Linked DNA regions of Homo sapiens: region 2 is linked to region 1. Evidence: promoter capture Hi-C in human tissues and cell types (Jung and others, 2019). All regions are on one chromosome and are shown on one strand. Each heading gives the region's core, a stretch centred on a gene start or on the middle of the fragment in contact. The rest is flanking DNA. Distances are from core to core; before and after follow the strand shown. Region 1 holds the start of FAXC (failed axon connections homolog, metaxin like GST domain containing). Region 2 overlaps USP45 (ubiquitin specific peptidase 45).

Region 1 (7,102 bases), core at 3,170-5,669:
GGCCAAGTTTTATTGAATTTTCACCTTGACAAACTCTGTTCTAAGCATGTCACGTGTTATCTCATTTAATCAATGCTATGAGAAAAGCTACTACTACTATTACCATTTTACAGATGAGAAAACTGAGTCATCAAGAGCTTACTGTCATATCCAAGGTTATGTGGTTGGTTACAGACAGAGTCTGAATTTGAACGCAGACAGTCTGGCACCAGAGCCCTCCCTCCAACATGTCAGAAACTCCTCTCTAATTTAGGATCAGAGGTTTGGGTAGGTTGTTCCCTGTACAGCTATATTTTATAAAGTGATCTTACCATAAGGTTTATATAAGAGGACAGCCATAGAGCATTAACTAGCTAGTTTACTACTATTCCCGGGGCTAACGATACCACAGATGAACATGCCTCTGTATACAGCTGATGATTTGTTAGTTTGCAGAGATCAGATGTTGATTCGCCAACTAAATGCTCTAGAAGAGGCTGAGCCCGTGTGTCAAAAGTGCAAATAAGCACTGGTAATGAAGTTAGTACTTAGTCATTCAATTTACAAACAAAAATTTCCAAAGCCTGATTGAATTTAAGATAGCTGCCAAGCTATCTCCACTCAGGGAAAACAAAGTAGTGTGTTGGAACAATATTTATTTTAAAATATGGTGCTAAAAAACATGGATAAAACCCCAAAAACCTACTTCAGTTATATTCATTAATTAAACTTCCTAAGTAATTCTCACCTGTCAACTTTACTCTTCCACTCTAGAGACACAGTCATAGATTAAGGTTATGTCTATGCAGCAGAAAATCCAAGTAGGCTGGGGAAGAGTTTGCAATAGCCAGAAACTCAGGGTAGTCATTTTAAGGTGTATTTTCTATCTTACATATTTCAGATTTTGTTTTGTTTTCTGCCTAAATTATAAAGACTATTGAAACCTAGATTTCACCTTAAGTGGAGGTAGTTATCATGTAACCTCTAAAGCCTTGGTCTTTGACCTTCCTGCCTGGTTTTTTTCCCTTTGCCCCTCCACTCCTCTTCCCCTAGACGCTGCAAGAAAGGCACCTGATACAGGTCTGTCTTCCCTGAGCAATGCTTCAGTTCTCCACATTTCTCTTCCTTCCTCTTCCTCCAACAAAACGGATTTCAAAGTAGGTACTTTTTTTGAGACGGAGTCTCGCTCTGTCGCCAGGCTGGAGTGCAGTGGCACCATCTCGGCTCACTGCAACCTCCGCCTCCTGGGTTCAAGCGATTCTCCTGCCTCAGCTCCCCGAGTAGCTATAGGACTACAGGCGCGTGCCACCACGCCAGGCTAATTTTTGTGGGGTTTTTTTGTTTGTTTTTTAGTAGACGGGGTTTCACAATGTTGGCCAGATGGTCTCGATCTCTTGACCTCGTGATCCGCCCGCGTCAGCCTCCCAAAGTGCTGGGATTACAGGCGTAAGCTGCCGCGCGCCGGGCCAAAGTAGGTACTTTCTAAGAGGCAGTGGTTAAAAACTGCAGGCTCTGATTTGAATCTAGATCCTACTACTCTTACTGTGTGATCTTGGGCAAGCTGCTTAACCTCCCTGAGCTGCAATTTCCTTATCTATGAAATGAACAAACAACAGTTGTGAGGAATAAATGCAGTCACACATGCAAAGCCCATCCTACTAAGTATTCAGAAATAGCCCTTTTTTATTGTTTGCATTACTTCAGAGCTTTCTAATTCAACTCAAACATTTGTCCAGAAACAAAACTGGCCAAGTATGGTGGCTCACACCTATAAACCCAACACTTTGGGAGGCCAAGGAGGGAGGATTTCTTGAGGCCAGGAGTTTGAGACAAGCCTGGGCAACATAGTGAGACCCCATCTCCACAAAAAAGTTAAAAAAAAAATTAGCCAAGTGCAATGGTTCATGCCTGTAATCCCAGCAACTCAGCAGACTGAGGCCAGAGGATCGCTTGATCCCAGGAGTTCAAGAGCAGCCTGGCCAACACGGTGAAACCCTATCTCTACTAAAAATACAAAAATTATCCAGACGCGGTGGTGCACGCCTGTAATCCCAGCTACTCAGGAGGCTGAGCCAGGAGAATCATTTGAACCAGGGAGGTGGAGGTTGCAATGAGCTGAGATCGAGCCACTGCACTCCAACATGGGCGACAAAGCGAGACTCAGTCTCAAAAGAAAAAAAAAAAAAAAGGAAGAAAAAGTGTGAATCAACCTAGGATTAAACTCCTTAGTCCAAATAAGCATCCAGTGCTGAGGTATATAGTCCCCTAAATGAGTTAGTAGCTATCTGTGGGCAGAGAGCTCTCCAGTCTCCAGTGACAACACCTGCCAGGGCAGGGCCTACTCCGGAGTGGCAGCTGAGCTCCACACTGTTTCTGCAAGGTCATTTAAGCTTTGTTTTAAACTTGGTCCTGTGAAGCCTTCACTCCCTCCACTGCTGAGAAGCCTCATGGTTTGGGATCTCCTCAAAGGCTTTAGACTAGAATACAACTGAGAAACAACTGGGTTACCATTTAAATTACTGCCCAAATGTTTTAGTTCTTTAGGTAGCTTGAAATCTAACTTGAAATACAGTTCTAAAACTAGCACAATTAACAAATAATCTAGAGAGATAATTCTCTTTAAATTTTTTTGTTTGGTTCAGCTAGATTCAAGGCAATGTGTTGAGAGAATTAAATGTGCAACAAGCTTAAAATAAACTTCCTCAAATATGGCTAAATAATATGAAAACCAATACATTTCTCCAAACCTAAATGATTTCCCACCCTTTCAGAGATGGGAACTATTCAAAATATGTACGTTAGGCCAAATGCCTACATTAGGCCATCACAATAATCTCCTGGGATCCCTGCAGGCTAGTACAGGTCACCTATCACTGTCTTTGTTTATAACCTATTGTGTAGGATTCCTCCACTGGAATAAGGCAGTGTGGACACATTTCTCTCACTTTAGAAAATACTGGCAAAGAGACATTCTGAGCTATTGAAAACTGGGCTTCTGGTAATCTTCCAGTGACGGAAGGCTCAAATGCATGGAAATTTTAACCATTAATTGATGTATCAATTAGCCAAACGACTGTCTCAGTGCCCTGTGGTATTACTCTACCCAAACAAAAATCTCGTCCCGGCTGGATGTACCAACAGCAGGGGCCTCCATTTTCTGGTATTTCCAACTCAATCTTGTAAACATTCTGCGGCAGCGGATGCAACTGTTTACGGCACTGGGCGACTCCGTGTTGTGCCCAACACACCCATGTGCTAGCCTGTCCTACTGCTCACACAACAATGACATCTAAGCCTGAAGATGGTGCTTGGCGTTCAATACCAGATAAGCAGAGAACCAGGTTAAGGCTGCATCAAAGCTGCCCACCACTACACTTGGTCATGCATCTTTAACAGGGACCCGCAGGTTTCTGGAGCTTTTGCAATTTTTCAGTCTTTTGATGTTGACATTTAGGGAAGAACTAACCTTTAGGTAAAAGATAAGGTTAGCAGTTAATATTCCAGCATTATTACTTATAAACAAGGCATTTCATAAAAGTGTAACCTATTTCTGCAGGGCCCAATTCTATTGTTGCAAACACACTGCACTTAGATCCTCCTAAGGCCATTTCTTAATAGATAACGACAAGTGACCCAGAGCATTTTGGGAGACAAATGTTTTTCCCTCCCAGCACCGGTTTAATTCTCCTTTCAACTCTAAACTGCCCCTCACGGCCAGGTGACCACAAATGCCTTTAGGGAAAGGTAATTGCAGGGCGCTTGGGCATCTGGGCAGCTTGACCGAGGGGCTGGCACGGGCCCCTCTCGCGCCAGCCCTGCCCTAGCCAGGTGCCCCTCTCTGCGCCCCTGTGCGGGGCCCTCTCTCCGGCTCACCTAATGACCAGGAGTTCGTGGAGCAGATACGCAGCTGCGGCCAGCAAAGCTCCCCCGGTCAAGTAAAGGGTTTTCTTCCACCAGGGATCGGAGCCCAGCCCTGCCATGATCCCACCGTAATCCTGCAAAGGGAAAGCGATGATGTCCCCATAAAAGGAGAAGGGCTCCTCGGACCCGGCCCACCAGCCGAAGAAGGAGATGCTCTGGTTCCAGCTCAGATCCACCACGCACGGCCTGGACGAAGCAAAGCCAACCCCCCAGTGCATGCTGCGCGGCTGGCTCCGGGCGCCCCTCCCAGGGCCCGCGCCGCCCGCATGGGAAGGGGCCGGCGCGGCCCGGCGCGGGCTCAGAGGCGCGCGGAGGGCGCGGGCGGCGCGGGCGGCGGCGACTGAGGAGGCGGCGGCGACTGAGGAGGCGGCGGCAGAGGAGGAGGAGGAGGAAGGGCACTGGCCGCGGACGGCGGGCCTGGCCGGCGGGGCCCCAGAGCCCTGGGCGGCAGCAGCGGCCGCCGGCTCCCCCCGCAGCTGCCTCTCCGCCCCGCTCTTTGTGTCGGCGCCTGGAGAAGGCCGCGTGATGTCATTGCTCCCCGGGGCAGGGAAACAGAGGCGGGATAAAGTCACCTACCCCGCGCCCTGCCCCCTCCCCGCATCTCCGCGGTCCGGCCGCCTCCGCCGGGGCCGGATCTGCAGGGCTGAGGCGCGCCGGGCAGGCTCCGCGCCTCCGGGCGGCACGCCCAAAAACCGCTCGCCGCGCGCGGGCAAGGGCGGCGGAGGTGCCTGGAAATGCGGCCCCACCGCGAGGAAGCTGCAGTCGGGGCCCGGATCCCGGTCCTCCCCTACCCCGGCCGGCCCTCCGCCTGCGCTCCAGCCCCTCCCGCGGGCCCCAGAGTAGGGAACGCGCAGGACTCACCTGGGGCGGCGCGGAGCTGCGGGCAGGAGACGCCACCAGGCGGGGGCTGGGAGCGTGGGCCAGGATTAAAGTCGGGAATCAGATTGTTCTGGCCATCAGGAAAGCGCTGCGTATTTGCATAATGTATAAAAACACTCTTATTACATTACACAATTACCTCGGGCTTGACCAGGTGTTCGCAGAGACGAGATGTCTGGTTTGGCAAATAACAAAATACTCTACCTAGAGAGATTTCTCTGACAAACCCAGTTCAAGTCTTTCCTCTTTGAAGTCACTATCAGGGAACTCGCTGATACAGGGTTTCGGTTGGGGGACGGGGGTCCCTCTTTTGTTTTAGAAAATCTGTCTAACAACTGTGTGTGTGTTCAGTGTATTTTTTTCCTTTAACTTCATTTATTAAAGTTCATAAGTACAAAGAATAGAAGCTTGTAATATATGCACAGATTTTAACAAGAGCATGGATAGTTTTAAATTGTTTGGAAGAACTGAAAAAGGATTCGGGCCGTGGAGGTTCATCACTCTCAAGGTGGAAGGATGGGTAAAAGAAACCTCCAGGCTCTTGCCTATGGAGCAGAGATTGAGGCGCAAAAGGACTCCCCCTTTTTTTCCTCTCCTGACACACCCGCCCCTTAGAACAGGCAAGGAGTGTGGTCGTCTTGTTAATAAATAATAAATATGGACGTGTCGCCTCAACGAGACGGGGGGAGGGGCTAGTCAGCTGATGCCTAGGCACCAGCATGTGAGACTCCCCAAACACTCCTGGGAAAATGTGACCTCCCAGGAAGAAGTAATGTGTGTGGTTCTAAGTGAGGCTCCCATAAGTAGGTTGCAAGGAGTGAAACCCAACGGCCTCCTGGGGTGACTGAGGTGGTCACCAGCCGGTCTTTCAAGGAGAGAGGCCAGAAGGCTGCCTGGCCTTGTCGGCAAGAAGCAGAGTAGTTAAGTCTGGGACCAAAGCTGCAGTGCTCTGGAAGAGGGAACAAGGAGGGCTGGCACCAGGGATTCTCCATGCTCCTTCTGTGCCCTTCCCACAGAGCACTCAGTCTTTGCTCTCAGTGAACACTGAGCCAATATTTAAAGAATATAAGTTTGATATTTGGGATCACATTATTTGCATATCTAGGTCTAGACATGGGGATGGGCATAAATTACCTTAAGTGGAAGAATATGGAAGGCAAAAGGGAGAGTCAATCCTGACAAACCTTATGCCCAAAACAAGTTAGAACCCAGAGGAAGTGTAGTATTTTTATCCCAGAAAGCCACTGACTACAATTCACTCTCACTCATAGTGACCTGCCCCACCCACTCATGCAGGCCAGGGGCCCACTGCTGCTTCCTGGTAGTGTCAGACAACTGTTGAGCATCATCTGGTCTCTGGTTCAAATATGGTTTACATTTTTAGAGACACTGCAGTGAACATCTTTAAGAAGCAGATGTGGGCTGGGCACAGGTGGCTCACACATGTAATCCCAACACTTTGGGAGGCCAAGGTGGGTGGATCACCTAAGGTCACGAGTTCGAGATCAGCCTGGCCAACATGGCGAAACCCCGTCTCTACTGAAAATACAAAAAATTAGCCGGGAGTGGTGACGAGCACCTGTAATTCCAGCTACTCGGAAGGCTAAGGCAGGAGAATTGCTTGAACCCAGGAGGCGGAGGTCTCAGTGAGGAGAGATTGTGCCATTGCACCCCAGCCTGGGTAACAAGAGCGAGACACCGTCTCAATAAAAATAAAAATAAAAATAAAATAAAATTCCACAAGAGAAACTAAAATGTCATCTTAATCTGATGCATCTTAAATTTTAACTTTTAGATCCATGGCATAGAAGAGAAAAGATGATTATTGTTAGGGCTGTATAAGATGAAAAGAGGAAGAGTAGACTGAGGAGACAACAAATCTGAGTTGGACAAATATTTGGTATCAGAATGTCAGAACAGGCCGGGCATGGTGGGGTGGCTCATGCCTGTAATCCCAGCACTTTGGGAGGTGGGCAGATCACTTGAGGTCAAGAGTTTGAGACCAGCCTGGCCAACATGGTGAAACTGTGTCTCTACTAAAAAAAAAATACAAAAATTAGCTAGGCATGGTGTCGAGCACCTGTAACCCCAGCTACCTGGGAGTCTGAGGCAGGAGAATCACTTGAACCTGGGAAGCAGAGGTCGCAGTGAGCTGAGATCGCGCCACTGCACTCTAGCCTGGGTGACAGAGTGAGACTCCATCTGAAATAAAAAAGAAGAACCTCAGAACAAACCTTTGGGGAGCAAGGAAAGCAGCTCTAGCTGTAAAGGCACCGACTGATGCAATCCTCAGCCAAATCTTCATCCAAAGACAGACTGAGTT
Region 2 (7,102 bases), core at 3,211-5,710, 160 kb after region 1:
ATTTAAAAATGTGCACACTGTGGAACACCCAGCATCCTGGCAGGCCAGTGGTGCCCTTCTGCAAACACACATTTCCCAATCCCGTACACAACTTCACCCCAGCCTACTGAGAACTACTGAGACACAGACCAATCATAGCGATTTCCCTCACTAGGTAAGTAAAGAAATGAGATGCAATTCTGGTTAATGCAACATGAGGGGAAGTCAAATCCGCTGAATCTTTCCAGAAGGCTTTTTTTTTGTTTGTTTTTTAAGAGGAACACAACCATGAGGTTGAGGATGGCACAGCAGAAAACAGAATAAACCTCAGTTTTTAATGTTCTTTCCATTAAATTAACTAATCCTGAAGTGGCCTTACTTCTGGACATTTTGTGTGAAATAATAAAGATTTCTCTTATTTTTTTAAAAAAGTATATACTTTTAATTTCATTAAAAAAATTCCTTTATTACAGATATCAATAACTTTTAAACTTTAAGATTTTAAATTACTTTGCAAAAGCAGCAGAATAATCTGTTTTGAGAGAGAAAAAAATTAATCTGAAAGGTAGATCCATTTCCTAAGTAAATACAAAAGGTAAAGACTGGTCCAGATATGGGAACTACTGCAAATAGGTTGAATTACCTCTGCAAGTATTTATAAACCACACCTGATTACTTTCTGAACATAGCATACCTTTTACTTTACCTTAACAATCATTTTTAAGTTCATTCCTGGAAAATTTCTATCTAAATTGGAATAAATTTATCTTAACTCCTATGCATGACCAACAGTCCAACTCACAATAAGCATTTAAGGAAAACATTTCAGACAAACTCACATATAAATAATACTTTTCTTACCTGGAAGCCACACTTGAGGCACAACCAAATATCAGAAGTAAGTACTAGCTGCCCATCATAGAATCTTCTTTCTTTTAAACATTCTGAGCAAACTGACCACAGATTCTCAGCTATTGCTCTCTTTACATGATTCACGCTGATAGCATGACTTACATGTTGGCAAGTTAAACCTACTGAATAAGATAAAACAAAATCTCAACATTTTCTTTGCTACACCAAAGTGCTACCATTACTGAGCAAACCTCAAAAGTATTAAATGCTGTTAACTAAAAAGCACAGAGATTGAACACACAAAATAACTCAAAAGATATATGCTATATAATTCCATTTATATAATGTTCATGAAATAACATAATTATAGAATGAGAAGAGATTCATGGTTGTAGGGAGCAATGGACGCAAGGCAGAGGGTGTTGCTATAAATGGACAGCACATAGAGTGGTGATGACACAGTCAAGTATCTTGATTGGTGGTGGTTATACAAAGCTATACATGTACTAAAATGGGATGATGTTTCGATAGCCAGTTTGCTGCACTGAAGGATGTCTGAATTATCTCTTTAAATATCATTAGGACCTTATCTGATGTCCCTAATTTATTAGAGTTTAAATTTTTGAACTAATTTTAGATTCACAGGAAGGTATAAAGAAATATACAAGGAGGTCTCATTCACCCTTCACTGAGCCTCCCCTGATGTTAATGTTTTGCACTGCTATAGTAAAATATCAAAACCAGGAAGCTGACGTTGGTACAATCCTTAGAACTTATTCGGATTTCAGAAGACATAGGCACTCATATGTGAGTGTGTTTGTGTATAGCTGTATGCAACTATGCATACCTAAAATGGAAAAAATATATTAAAAATATCCCTTTAAATGGAGAGAACTAGCAAGAAAGTGAGGAAAATCCTCAGAGGCCCAAATCAAAAGCATGAGGCTAAAGAGAAAACCAAGCCCTGAGGCCAGCAGCTCCCAAAAGCCATCTGCCAAGCTCTGGTGGCTTGGTGACATGGTTTTAATAGGCCATGAGAAAGAGACCAAAAAAAAAAAAAAAGCCAATCTAAGTTACTTCATGTTATAAACTAAACAAAATCCTAATAAAAATGCCAACAGGATTTTTTGGAACTAGAAAAGGTGATTCTAATATTTATGCAGAAAACAGTAAAAATAAAGAGTAACAGATTTCTTAATTAAAAACATATACAGTCTTCCCTCAGATACTTGAGGCAGGGAGGTGGGGTGGGGTAGTTGGTTCTAGGACCTCCCCACATATACCCAAATCTGTGCATACTCAAGTCCCGCAGTGGGCCCCGTGGAATCTGCATTTAGAAGTCAGCCTGCCAAGTATGCAGTTTTCACGCATCCCAAGAATAGTGTATTTTCCATCTAGGTTTGGTGGAAAAAAATTTGTGTACAAGTTGATCCTCAGCGTTCAAACCCATGTTGTTGAAGGGTCAACTGCATTGTTATTTCTTCTCAACACTATTTGGGATGCCATATATCACAATTTACCAGCAATATCATCTGAAGAGTCTTCATCATGAGGTACAGTAGGCCTTTTACTTCTTTTGGCTTTCTCAGGTAAAGCTTTAGTTGGATCTTTCACCCGCATCTGTTATTTACTGAAGGGATTGAGGGAAAAAAATTCATACATTTTAGTCTTCAAAATTAAAATTTTATATTTTATTTAATGTGTATTAAAACTGAAATGACTTCAATTTCAACTGGTCCGGGAAATCAACAGAGGAAGAAGAGGGGAACATCACTTGAAATGAAATAAATCTTTGTTAAATCAGTATACACATGGTATATTCCATTGGCTTTTGCCAACTATACCATTATGGACTAAATGTTTGTGTCCCCACTCCAAATTGATATGTTGAACTCTAATCCCCAAAGTGATGATACTTGGAGGTGAAGCCTTTGAGAGGTAATTAGGTCATGTAGGTGGAGCCCTCATGAATGAGACTGGCCTCTTATAATAAGAGGCTAGAAAGCTACCTTTGTATCCACATGAGGATATACGAGAAGATGGCCATCTATAAACCAGGAAGAAGGCCCTCACCAGATACTAGATTTGCCAGCATCTTGACCCTGTACTTCCCAGCTCCCAGTATTGTGAGAAATAAGTCTGTGTTGTTTAAACCACCCAGTCTATAATAATTTGCTATACCAGGCTGAACCAAGACACAACCCCTAAATATATGATGTCCAGGTGAATGACCAAAACTAAAGTTTTCATCAACGGAGTAAGTATTGCTTCTGGATAATGAGTTCTCTTTACCCTTTCCTCCCTTCTGCTAGCAAGGAAATAGTAGGAGCTGGATGAGCCATACTGGATCAAAAATGGATAGCTGTAAGCCAAGCATAGTAAAGCCACTCTATACCTGTGTTGTACAACTAGCACTGGAATATTAAGAGAAAATTAAATTTCTATCTTTTTAAGCTACTACATTTTTGGGGGTTTTTCACTCTAGCTTTTTATCATGAAAAATTTTAAACATCTACAAAAGTTAAAAGAACAGTATAATGAACACTCATATACTAATTAGATTCCACATTTATATTATTATTACTATTATTATTATTATTATTATTTTGAGATGGATCTCGGCTCACTGCAACCTCCACGTCCTGGGTTCAAGCAATTCTCCTGCCTCAGCCTCCCAAGTAGCTGGGATTACAGGCGTGTGCCACCAGGCTTGGCTAATTTTTTTTGCATTTTTAGTAGAGATAGGGTTTCACTGTGTTAGTCAGAATGGTCTCGATCTCCTGACCTCGTGATCCGCCCACCTCAGTCTCCCAAAGTGCTGGGATTACAGGCGTGAGCCACCGTGCCCGGCTATTATTATTTTTTGAGACAAAGTCTCACTCTGATGGCCCAGGCTGGAGTGCAGTGGCCTGATTTCAGCTCACTGCAGCCTCAACCTCCCCAGGCTCAGGTGATACGCCCACCTCAGCCTCCCAAGTAGCTAGGACTACAGGTGCACACCACAATGCCCAGATAATTTTTTTGTATTTCTTAGTAGAGATGGGATTTCCCCATGTTGCCCAGGCTGGTCTCGAACTCCTGGGCTCAAGCAATCCACATGCCTTGGCTTCCCAAACTGCTGGGATTACAGGTATGAGCCATGGTGCCCCACCAATTCCACACCTATTAACAATTAGCTATGTTTGTTTTTATCTAAATATCAATATGTGTGTATAGAGAGACACATATATGTATGTGAGTGTGTGTATATATATATATATATATATATATATATATATATATATATACACATAGTTGAACTATTTGAAAGTTGTAGAGATCTTGACAGTTCATCCCTAAATACTTCAGCATGTATCTCTTAAAAATAAGCACATTCTCCTATATAACAATGTAATCATATCTAAGAAAATTAATAATTTTCTAATATCATCTCATATTCCATCATATTCTAATTTCCTTAGTTGACCCTAAATTGTCTTCTATAGCTGGTTTTTTGAAAAAGATTCAATCAAGGTTTGCACTTGATATTGGTTATGTCTCTTTAGTATCTTTTAATCTATTAACAGAACAGTTCTTCCAACCTGTTACTTGCCTAAGACTTTAGCTTTTTAAAGAGATCAGGCCAGTGCATGAGTCACCTTGAGGGTCTTGTTAAAATGAAAGTTCTGATGCAACAAGTCTGGCACAAGACCTGAGATTCTACCTACCTAAAAAGCTTCTAACTGAAGCCACTGCTGGGGGCCCATAGAATACTCTTTCGACAGCAAAGTTATATAATGTCTCACACTGAATTTGTCTCTTTCTTCATAGTGTTATTTACCTCTATCCCTTATATTTATTAAAAATTCAGTTAATTATCAAAGATTTTAGATACAAGCTAAGCATTTTTTAAAACTACTATATTTTGGAGTCTCTGTTAGAGTAGCTTGGCCTACCTTTTACTCTCCTGCCTGGTGGCTAAGCAACATCGCAATTTTCATGGTTGCTGACTTACTTCTCAATGATCAAGGTAATGAATCTTTCAATTCAGTACTAAATTCCAAATCTTGATTTATTCATTCCATAATTCACAATAAGGGAGCTTTCAAGTTTACCATTAAGTCCAACGGTCATCACTACTGAACTAAGTTGCAATAAATTAAGGGCTTCCGGGTTAGGAACATGTAAAAAGCCTCTGAGTTCCTTGAGCACTTCATCTCTACCTTCTCCCTCCAAACTTCCTCATCTACTCTCCCCTACAGTTCCACCTTATAAAATCACTAATTTAAGTATCCCCTTCTCTGACAGCAACTTCCCAGTTCTTCCAACTTGCCTGATCAGCCACTCATATTTTCCTATAGTGTCCAGGCTGACAAGAGGCTGCATCTCAACAAGTCCTTCCATGACCCTTACAGCAGGGCAGGGAGAAGTGGAAATGGCAAATGGAGAGCTGCTTCCTAAAGCAAGTCACATGGCACATTTAACTTCAAGCAGACATGGAGAGGGGTTGCCCATGTACAAAGAGTGCAGCATTACATGTACCCAAAAATAGGTGAACCGGAATACTTGTGCAGAGCCTTAAGGACTACATCACCTCTCTCGCAGAACCCAATCCTAGATGAACCCAATTAACCATTTTCTCCATGTCGGGAGAAAGTCTCTTAAGAAAGCAGACTAGGTCCATTATTATTCACTTCACCTTCTGGTCAACTTACATACTATCCACAGAGCCATTTCAAATCTTCTTCACTTTCCTCAAACCTCTAACCCCTCCAACTCCCAACTAACTTACCAAAAACTGATCTAGTCTTTTATAAGGGAAAAGAGACATAAGCAGACGGCAAATTTGATCTTTCTAACCCCAAATTTGCAAACCTACCTCCATCAATTTAAATTTGATGTCCTGAAAAGAGATAGGTATAACTAATAAAGTACAGGGAAAATGGCCTATGAGAAACTGATTATATTTTCTCGCTGTGGTACAGATAAGCTCTTGATAAAGATGAGCATTAACACAGATAATGCTAGCAAAATAATAAACAAAACCAGGCATTTGACCTACATACTGTAAGCAACCTGTGCCTTTTTTCAAAAACACTGACTCAAAATTAACTTGGTAATGTAGAGGCAATTTCTGATGATTTTTCTGCCATATGTAATGTCTAAACAGACAGAATCATTTGGTACAGTAACCCAGAATTCGGCAATTATTTATCTGTAGTTTTCCAATTTCCATTTGAGGCAAAAGGGCAAAATTAAAAGTCCAATTATTAGAGCTTCCAATACTTTTTATCATCAAAATTGTGTCTGGGCACTGGAGACTGGGAAGGATGGGAGTGGGGTGAGGAATGAGAAATTGCTTAATGGACACAATGTACATTATTCAGGTGATGGTTACACTAAAAGCCCAGTACCACTAGGAAATATATCCTCGTAAAAAAACGGCACTTATATCCCTTACCTTTATACAAATTTACAAAACTGTGGCTGAGGATCTCCGTGATCTCCCCCACATTTAGAGCTTTGATAGGATGCACGGGACTCAACATATAGTTGAATTCATGGCTGACATTTATTACACAATGCAGTATGGATATAAAGGCTCATCATAATAGAAAAAGACACAAGCGGAGTCTGGAGGAATCACGTGTAGGCTCCTTATGCGGTCTCCCTCCCAAGAGGGGTCAAACAAAACACATCCTTCCTCCATCAGTGAAAATGCAGCAGTTTCCGCGCAGGGAAGCCCATTAAAGACTTGGTGTCCCGGATTTTTACAGAAGCTGGTAATTTCGGCATAAAACATACTGTTCAGCACAAACCCAAAAATCTAAGTTCCCAGATGCCAAACAAGCACCAACATTGCAAGCAGTCCTTTCTAAGGATAGCAGTCTTAAGGCCTGCTATGTTAACTCTTTTTAGCACAAATATGTTCTGGCCATTTTTCTCATGCGGTTTTCCAAACAATAAACTTTACAGTTTTCAAGTCACCATCACTTAACACTTGTCTTTTCTCTAAAGTAGGATGTGCAACTAAGTTGTTTAGAAAGCTTTGTTTTTAAACAGGCTATGCAAAAAGCCCATATCCTTAAGAAAAAAAAATCCTTTTTTCCTACTCTTGGGCAATTATTTATGGGGGTTGGAAAGAGAAGAAAAGGTCACTATCTCCTTTTATATACCAAGCTCAAAAAGATGAGCAGCACTTATGGTTTTGCTGTGTATCACGCTCAGTTCTAAGCACTTCACAAATATTAACCCACGCAACCCTCACAACCACCTTAGGAGATAAGTTGCT

What was found. The method cuts DNA at HindIII sites, captures the fragments that hold promoters and counts their contacts. A contact is called where the count stands out against the background at its distance.
Region 2: a contact is called between a fragment that was not itself captured here and the fragment with the promoter of FAXC in region 1, in 1 of the 25 tissues and cell types used here (H1 embryonic stem cells).

The regions. Positions count from the first base shown.
Region 1 is chr6:99,345,255-99,352,356 of GRCh38, forward strand. FAXC (failed axon connections homolog, metaxin like GST domain containing) reads right to left here and starts at 4,420. Exons shown (of 6, transcript NM_032511.4): 1 at 3,853-4,420. The coding sequence starts at 4,118. RefSeq lists enhancers at 802-1,302, 1,303-1,803, 2,694-3,258 and silencers at 4,450-4,509, 4,580-4,629, 4,690-4,769. The HindIII fragment of the contact is 6,681 bases long and covers 168-6,848 here.
Region 2 is chr6:99,507,770-99,514,871 of GRCh38, forward strand. It overlaps USP45 (ubiquitin specific peptidase 45), which reads right to left. Exons shown (of 18, transcript NM_001346022.3): 2 at 2,352-2,461; 3 at 841-1,013. The coding sequence starts at 2,451. Among named protein-coding and RNA genes, the nearest start is that of USP45, 4.1 kb to the right of the region's middle. RefSeq lists an enhancer at 6,662-7,102. The HindIII fragment of the contact is 6,905 bases long and covers 1,009-7,102 here.